Linked DNA regions of Homo sapiens: region 1 is linked to region 2. The links are contacts of gene promoters, found by promoter capture Hi-C in blood cells and fetal thymus (Javierre and others, 2016). All regions are on one chromosome and are shown on one strand. Each heading gives the region's core, a stretch centred on a gene start or on the middle of the fragment in contact. The rest is flanking DNA. Distances are from core to core; before and after follow the strand shown. Region 1 overlaps LOC105372631 (a long non-coding RNA gene). Region 2 holds the start of SYS1 (SYS1 golgi trafficking protein).

The links. The method cuts DNA at HindIII sites, captures the fragments that hold promoters and counts their contacts. A CHiCAGO score of 5 or more calls a contact.
Region 1: a fragment that was not itself captured here is called in contact with the fragment with the promoter of SYS1 in region 2 in 10 of 17 cell types (total CD8 T cells, activated CD4 T cells, naive CD4 T cells and 7 more); the score reaches 8.2 in total CD8 T cells.

Annotation. Positions count from the first base shown.
Region 1 is chr20:45,429,776-45,434,443 of GRCh38, reverse strand. The region is part of intron 2 of LOC105372631 (a long non-coding RNA gene); the gene reads right to left. Among named protein-coding and RNA genes, the nearest start is that of MIR6812, 6.6 kb to the right of the region's middle. The HindIII fragment of the contact is 8,302 bases long and covers 1-4,668 here.
Region 2 is chr20:45,360,693-45,365,036 of GRCh38, reverse strand. SYS1 (SYS1 golgi trafficking protein) reads right to left here and starts at 1,881. Exons shown (of 4, transcript NM_033542.4): 1 at 1,722-1,881; 2 at 1,344-1,508. The coding sequence starts at 1,505. SYS1-DBNDD2 (SYS1-DBNDD2 readthrough (NMD candidate)) reads right to left here and starts at 1,868. Exons shown (of 6, transcript NR_003189.2): 1 at 1,722-1,868; 2 at 1,344-1,508. It overlaps LOC124904914 (a long non-coding RNA gene), which reads left to right and starts at 1,669. Exons shown (of 2, transcript XR_007067609.1): 1 at 1,669-1,969; 2 at 2,211-2,681. RefSeq lists an enhancer at 1,712-2,151. The HindIII fragment of the contact is 10,354 bases long and covers 1-3,491 here.

The DNA.
Region 1 (4,668 bases), core at 469-2,968, 70 kb before region 2:
ACCCGGGAGGCGGAGGTTGCGGTGAGCTGAGATCGCGCCATTGCACTCCAGCCTGGGCAACAACAGCAAAACTCCGTCTCAAAAAAAAAACAACTACCCGAGACTGGGTAATTTATAAAGAAGAGGTTTAATTGGCTCACGGTTCTGCCAGCTGTACAGGTAGCATAGCTGGGGAGGCCTCAAGAAACTTTCAATCATGGTGGAAGGCAAAGGGGAAGCAGACATGTCTTACATGGCAGGAGTGGGCGAAAGAGAGAGGGGGGAGGTGCCACACACTTTTAAACAACCAAGTATCATGAGATCTCACTATCAGGAGAACAGAAAGGGGGAAATCCACCCCCATGATCCAACCAGCTCCCACCAGGCCCCACCTCCAATATTGGGGATTACAATTTGACATGAGATTTGGGTGGCAACACAAATCCAAACCATATCACTGAGTAAAGTGCAGATGGCAGGATAGTTTCACAATAGAATGTTCATTCTCTGGTTTCTATTGAATTGGATAGGAGAAAAAAAAAAAACAGGTAAAAAAAAAAAAATCAGCAGCAGTAAACCACCATGGGAAACAGTAGAACCTCATTCCATAAACTTCAAAAAGCAGTAGCAACAGAAAAATATAGAATATCTTGATGTGTTTCGTCATGGTCCTATCCCCAACTGCTCTGTTCCAGAAGAGGTGCAGGAGAAAGAGGAAATAATACAAAAGTCCTGAAAATTCTCACCAGTTGTTCCAGTGAGTTGCCTACCAGGATCCATACTTAGTGGCACAAAACAACAACTCTTTTCTGATGCACGTGGATTCTGTAGGTCTGGAATTCAGGCGGGGCTTAGTTGGGGAATTCTTTTGCTCCTTGTGGCCATGTCTGAGGTCATTCTGTGGTACCCAGCTGGGCTGGGCTGGGCTGGAGGACCCAGGATGGCTTCAATCACATGTCTAGGGCCTTGGCAGAAAGGCTAAACTAAAAGGCTAAACTCAGCTGGAACTGTTGGCCGGTGTCCACTGCATGTGTTCTTTTCAGCAGTGGCCTCTGGGTAGTCAGACTTTTCACATGGACATCAGCATCACCCAGAGCCAGCATCCCAAGAGTGCAAGATGGAAGGACAGCCTTTTTTGACCTAGCCTCAGAAATCACACAGTATCTCTTCCACTGCATTCTACTGATCATGATGGAGTCGGCAAGGTCAGCCCAGATTCAAAAAGGGGATTGACCCCAATTCTCAATGGGACAAGTGCCAGAAAAATTGCAGACATGTTTTTAAACTGAGACAGATTAGTTAAAATTTTCCTATATGTAAAATATAACTTCCTCCAAGACCCGTCCCCACCTACCCCCACTGCCCTACTTCCCACTAAAAAAAAAAAAAAAAAAAAAAAAAAAAAAAATCTTGGCCAGATGCAGTGGTTCATGACTGTAATCCCAGCACTTTGGGAGACTGAGGTGGGAGGAACACTTGTATCCAGGAGTTCGAGACCAGCCTGGGCAACATAGCAAGACCCTATCTCTATAAAAAATAAAAAATTAGCCAATCACGGTGCCACAAACCTGTAGTAGTCCCAGCTACTCAAAAGGCTGAGGTGGGAGGATTGCTTGAGCCTGGAAAGTCAAAACTGCAGTGAGCCGTGATCACACCACTACACTCCAGCCTGGGTGACAGAGTGAGTTTGTCTTAAAACCAAACAAACAAACAAACAAACAAACAAACACCTCATCCTATTTTGACATCAAACTCAGCTCCAATTTCTGGAGCTTATCTACATCAAGTCCAGCTGCAAAGAGGCGTCTTGGGTTCTGTTCCGTGGGTAGAGTTTCTCTCCATCTGAAAACCTGTGAACTAAAGAGACATGTTTTCTGCCTCACATGCACCCAACCTGCAATGGCGAGATTGGCACAGGAAACCACTATGTTCACTACCGTTTTAAAAGGGGAAGTTCAGAGCAATCACTGAGCCCCGGCAATTCTGAAATTGAATTGTGCACCTGTTGCCAGAGGTTCTTGGCTCCACTCTGACTCACACTTCCTTTTCCATAAGAAATGGCTCTTGCTTGCAACTGAGTAGCCTTCTTGTCCTGTGTCTTAACAGAATACCTGAAACTGGGTAATTTATTAAAAACCAAATTTATTTCTTACAGTTCTGTAGGCTGGGAAGCCCAAGGTCAAGGGGATGCACCTGGTGAAAGCCTTCTTGTTGTGGGGACCCTCTGCAGAGTCCTGAGGCAGTTCAGGACATCACATGGTGAGGGGGCTGAGCATGCTAAACTATGTGTTTTCCTCTTATAAAGTCACCAGTCCCACTCCTATGATAATCCATTAATCCATTTATCTGTGAATGGATTAATCCATTCATGACCCAATCACCTCTTAAAGACCCCACCTCTCAGTACTGCCACATTAGGGATTAAATTTTAATATGAGTTTTGGGGAGGAGTGTTAGAGAACTGCATGCAAAAAGTCAAGATGCATCCCCAGAAAATTCAAGTCCCACCCAAGCTCTTGGGGTCTCCACAGAGATAAAAAGCCCACCAAGGTTTGCCATTCCCCAAGGCTCAAATTTCTAATTGGTTGGCTGATCCAAAGCTCCAGGGAAACTTTCTCAAAAATGGAATAACACGTCACTAGAGGAAGCCAACTGTGGTTCCAGGAATTTAAGAAAATCTCCAGAGAGCAGAGCCCAGGCTGCCCATCATAGTCAAGAGACATCTCCAATAGCATTCCTTTCTTCCCTCAACCCCATGACTTTAGGCTCCACAGAAGTGTATAGAGGCAAACTTCAGACTGCAATTTGGGGGGTAGGGATGGAAATAACAATAGATCTCAGATATGGTGAGAAGGAAACCAAAGAGAATATACTGACACCAATTAGAATAAGCGAAAGGACAGGGCAGAGTTGCCCAAACTGAGCCTGACGAAGATGAAGGGAAATGACAGAGTAGCTATGCACCATACTACATACAGTTATAAGGAAGAAAGAAAATAAAGCAGGGAGGGAGGGAAGAAAGGAAAAAAAGAAGAAAATTAAAAAGGAAAGGACGCTGGAGAAAAGAAACAGACACAGATAACTGAATTCAGCAGAAAATCTGATAAAAGGAAAAATTTATAGGAGGGCTTTCAGCTTAAAAAACAAAAACTTTAATAAAATAAGACATTAGGCTGGGTTCAGTGGTTCAGTGTTCACACCTGTAATCCCAGTGCTTTGGGAGGCCAAGGTGGGAGGATTGCTTGAGGCTAGGTGTTGAAGACCACCCTGGACAACATAACAAGATTTCATTTCTAAAAATAAATAAATAAATAAATAAATATTTTAAAATAAATAAAAATTTAAAAGACCCTTAAAAATGAGTGTTAAAGAAATAAATTGAAGATCTAGGTAACACCACTAAAAAAACTGCAAATAAATTGAAAATCTCAAGGAAGAAACAAGTCAGAGCTACAAATCAAATTACTAGCATAGAATAAAAGTTGGGGATAGTAAGTACCAATAGCCTGGGCCAGGTGCGGTGGCTCACACCTATAATGTCAGCACTTTGGTTGGCTGAGGTGGGTAAATCACTTGAGGTCAGGAGTTTGAGACCAGCCTGGTTAACGTGGTGAAACCCCGCCTCTACTAAAAATACAAAAATTAGCCAGGCATGGTGGTGCGTGCCTGTCATCCCAGCTACTCGGGAGGCTGAGGTGAGAGAATCACTTGAACCCAGGAGGCAGAGGTTGCAGTGAGCCAAGATTGCACCACTGCACTCCAGCCTGGGCGACAGAGACTCCATCTTAAATAAATAAATAAATAAATAAATCTCAATAGCCTAGAAAGAGGAAAAAAAAAGTCAAATTATTTTTTAAAATATTACCCCATAAAATTGTCCTTCAGGTATTAAGAAAATATGCAAAAATTCAGGGAAAACAATATCCATAAACTCTTCATTTTTGTAGAATTATTTTTGTTAATCAATCTAACAAAATGTTGATGAGGTTATCCTGAAGTTACTGATAGTTGCTTTATATGGTAGAGCATCAATGTCCAATATGGTAGCCACTGACCACATGCAACTATTGAGCACATGAGTTATGGCTAATATTAGTTGTTATATGCTATAAATGTTTAAAGTACACATCAGATTTCAAAGACTTAATATAAAGAAAAGTAAAATATTGCATTAGTTTTTATTTCATATTAATTATATATTGAAATGATATATATACTGTACTCAAATAAACTATCATCAAATTAATTTTACCTGTTTTTCCTTTCTTTTTTTTTTTTTTTTGAGACAGGGTCTCCTTCCCTGTCACCCAGGCTGGAGTGCAGTGGCACAATCTCAGCCCACTATTAGCCTCAACTTCCCGAGCTCAGGTGATCCTGCCCACCTCAGCCTCCCAAAGTGCTGGGATTACAGGCTGAGCCACTGTGCCTGGCCCCTCTTTTTACTTTTTAAAAAAGCTACTAGGAAATTGAAAATTCGATTTGTGGCTTGTATTATATTTCTGTTGCACAGCACCATAGTAGACTTTGGGGAGAGATTTCGCTTGTTTGTACTATTTAGTTTAGTTTGATCTTTTAAATAAGTATGGTTATTCATATAAAACAATACACTCATTATTCCTAAATTGAATAAATAAACCAATGGACAAAGAGCTATGCTTTCTCCCCTGGGATGTTGAGACAACTAGCTGG
Region 2 (4,344 bases), core at 632-3,131:
AACTAGGCATATGGTGGGTGTGCAACCTCCACTATCCAACACAATACTATCAAATGCCAAACATCTGCACCACACTTTCAGCTGACAAAGAAAGGTCTTTGACATACATAATCTCATATTATCCCTAAAAAAACCTCACAAAGCCATTCTTCTTCTTTTAATTCTTATCACTTTTTGGATAATAACTTGCCCAAGGGCTAACACAGAGAACAAGCAGCAGGAGCAAGGACTCCATCCCAGGTCTCCTGGCTTTAAGAACTGTGCTCGGCCGGGCGCGGTGGCTCACGCCTGTAATCCCAGCACTTTGGGAGGCCGAGGCAGGCGGATCACGAGGTCAGGAGATCGAGACCATCCCGGCTAAAACGGTGAAACCCCGTCTCTACTAAAAATACAAAAAATTAGCCGGGCGTAGTGGCGGGCGCCTGTAGTCCCAGCTACTTGGGAGGCTGAGGCAGGAGAATGGCGTGAACCCGGGAGGCGGAGCTTGCAGTGAGCCGAGATCCTGCCACTGCACTCCAGCCTGGGCGACAGAGGGAGACTCCGTCTCAAAAAAAAAAAAAAAAAAAAAAAAGAACTGTGCTCATCACCACGCCACAGCTGCCTCTTAGATGTAACAACTTATAGGCCTCCTTTACACTTTACAAAGTACCTTCTTATTCCTAAACCCCTCTGGGCCTTGTAACATTTTGTTGAGGGCAACATGGTAGGAGCATCCGGCCCACTTTTCAGAAAAGGCTCAGAAAGGGGAAGCAACTTGCCCAAGGTCCCACAGCTAGTTTTATATGTTTAGGCCTAGACTGAACCCTTGCTTTTCTGAACCCAAAGCACATGCTCTTTATATTGCAGTCCACGACCTCTCTGCAACTAGTCTCATGGTTTTGAAGACAGGAAAACAAGTTCACAGAGGTGACATTTGCCCCAGGTCACACAGCTAGTAAGTGGATCTTAAACGGACGCCTGTCTGACCCCAAAGTCCAGGCAGTTTCCACTGTACCCGCACGAATGCTCTTTTATCCACCCCTCTCTCCGATGTGGCACCTGAGAACCTAGCTCAGAGAAATCAAGTCACTTTCCCAGAGTATCAGAAAGGAAATGTATCAGAGTTGCCTGGAACACAGACGTGTTTATTGTATTAACATCCAGGCCCTTTTCTTTGTACTAATCAGCCTCTGCTGTCATTCCATTTTATGGATGAGGCAGCTGAGGCTCAGAAAGGTGAAATCCCTTTCCCAGGGCTACAAAGAAAGAAGGTGACCCAGCCACGTCTACAGCACAGTAGTGATGGACCACAAAGCCTACTCGGGGAGGCCGAGACCCCACCCGCCCCAGTCCGGGGACCCTACCTCGGCGTCGAACATCTGGTCCAGCGAGGGGCTGCTTCGCACTAGCCCGTCCACCAGCGCCAGCCACAGGCCCAGCGAGCCGTAATACACGGTCTGCATGAGGACGATCTGCGACAGGATCAGCAGCGGGTCCCACACGTAGCTGCGGAACTGACCCGCCATGCCCTGCAGGGACACGAGCCGGGCCTCAGCCAGCGGCCTGTCTCCATGGCAACGTCGCCCCGCCCGGGAGGAGGGACTGGAACCAAGGGGTGAGCCCATTCCAAGAGTCAGGGGGAAGGCGGGGCAGACAGACCCATTCTCAGAGTGAGGGGAAATCCAGCCCATTCCGCCTGCGCGGCCCCCGCCCGTACACGAGCTCCTCTGGGGTCTACTCACCAGTGACAGACTCGACGATCGAAGTGTCTGAGCGTGGCCCGGCCTCACCGGCGGGCTCCCAAAACAGCGCTGACAGACAGGACCATGGAGGAGAGGCGCTGCCGGCCTAGAGAGGCAAAGCTCCAGCGACCACGGCGGCAGGAGCGGCTGCGTAGGAAAGAAACGTTTCCGGGGAAAGCAGCGGAGGGGCGGGGCTGAGGTTGCGCAGGCGTAGTGGGTGCAACCTCTGCCTGAACCTCCTGAACCAGGTACAAGCAGCCGGATAGCGAACTGAGCACATGCGCAGAAGGAAGAGTGAAGGCAAACGGAAGAGAGGAACGAAGGCCGCAGAGCTTGCGCGCCCTCTAGAGGGGAATTCTTTTTTTAAAGGAAGGCGGCTAGGGGAGAGGCAAGTGGGGTGGCTTAGGACGCGGTAATGATGTTTGGGAATTAACGAGGTGATAAACTGTGTCGTTATTTTCAGCCTAAATTCTCAATGTTTTCTCCTAGTTAGAGTCTGATAACTTGAAGTGGACCTGCAAGCTCCTCCACGTAGGAGTTTGCCAATGTTCCCGCTGTACAGATAGTTAAGCTAAGGGCCAGAGAAGGAAAGCAACATACTGTTTCAACGACACAGTTAGTAGCAAAGTAAGTATTAAAATTCAAGTGTTGGTCGGGCGCGGTGGCTCACGCCTGTAATCCCAGCACTTTGGGAGGCTGAGGTGGGCGGATTACCTGAGGTCGGTGTTTCGAGACCAGCCTGACCAACATGGAGAAACCCCGTCTCTGCTAAAAATACAAAATTAGCGGGGCGTGGTGGCGCACGCCTGTAGTCCTAGCTACTCGGGAGGCTGAGCCAGGAGAATTGCTTGAACCCGGGAGGCAGAGGTTGCAGTGAGCCGAGATCACGCCATTGCACTCCAGCCTGGGCAACAAGAGCAAAACTCCGTCTCTAAATAAATAAATAAATAAATAAATAAATAAATAAAATTCAAGTGTTTCCTCAACACTACAACATTGATTTCGCACCTACTCGGTGGCAGGAAGGCTAGAACATGTATATATAAGACAGCCCCTGCCCTGAGACACAGATGAACTATATTAGAAGGCAGAGTAGTGGGTGTTTTAAAATGTGGGTGTCCAGTGGAAAAAGGCACAGGTTCTGAAGTCGCACATAGGAGTAAATCCTGACCCTCTCTGCTGCCATGACTGTTTTATCTATCTTCCAAATCCGAATAGTGGACAGTCAGTAAATATTTGCTGAATGAGTTAAGAACAGAAAAAGCAAGAGCAAATCGATAACTCACTTATTCCTACTCCAGCAGACGAAAACCCATCAACTTCATTGATCCTAGGTTCCCCCTCTCTGAAGTGGAAAGACGGGAAGTAAGTTGTTCCAGGAAAAGAATTTGGGTTTTAGGGCCAGCTATGCCACCCAGTGTGACCAGCAAGCCACTTCCTTCTTTAAACCTCAGCTTCCCTGTTTATGAAATGAGGAGTTGGACATGATTAACGTTTTCCACCATTTAATCTACCTTCCAGTAATTATTTTCTCATTAAAAAAAAAACTTAGGCTGGGCACAGTGGCTCATGCCTGTAATCCCAGCACTTTGGGAGGCTGAGGCGGGCAGATCACAAGGTCAGGAGTTCAAGACCATCCTGGCTAACATGGTGAAACCCCATCTCTATTAAAAATACAGAAAATTAGCCGGGCCTGGTGGCAGGCGCATGTAGTCCCAGCTACTCGGGAGGCTGAGACAGGAGAATGGCGTGAACCTGGGAGGCGAAGCTTGCAGTGAGCCGAGATTGCGCCACTGCAGTCCAGCCTGGGCGACAGAGCGAGACTCCGTCTCAAAAAAAAAAAAAAAAAAACGTATCAAAGAGCCATGTAACTGCCAATCAGAATTTCTGAACAGCTTGTGGTAGCCGTGTTATCACCTTGAGCTGATACAATTCCAGACAAAAGTAAAGAAACTTGAGACTTTATTGAGAGTGTGCGATTGTCCTTATCATTTGGAAATACCCTGAACAGTTCCCCTGGACTCCAGTTGGGGAGTTATTAAGGCCCAAAGATTTCTTAGGTGCTTTCCAGCTCAACCATTCTTTTAGGCACCTCAATTCAGTCCAACAAATATGTATTCAAATTCCTCTAGTTCACTGATTATGCACATGATCTAGTGTTTCTGAGAAAACATCTGTTTCTTAAGTGCCTACATGATCTTGTTTAATTCTCACAATCTGAAAATATAGCTATTGTCCCCTTTTTATAGGGGAGGAAACTAGGCTTGGGGGGAGGTGGTGTGACTCTCTAGGTCAGAGAGCTCACAGGGAGCAGAGCTGAGATTCAAATTCAGGACAACTGACTCCAAACATCAAGATGACTTTTAGTTTAGTTTTGGTTTGGTTTAGTTTGGTTCTTTGAAACAGGGTCTCAATCTGTCACCCATGCTGGTTTGCAGTGGCGCAATCATGGCTCACTGCACCCTCAAACTCCCAGGCCCAAGCCTCGGCCTCCCGAATAGCTGAGACCACAGGCATGTGCCACCACACCTGGCTTTTTTTGAAACGGAGTCTTGCTCTGTCGCTCAGGCTGGGGTGCAGTGGCATGATCTTGGCTCACTGCAACCTCCGCCTCCCGGGTTCG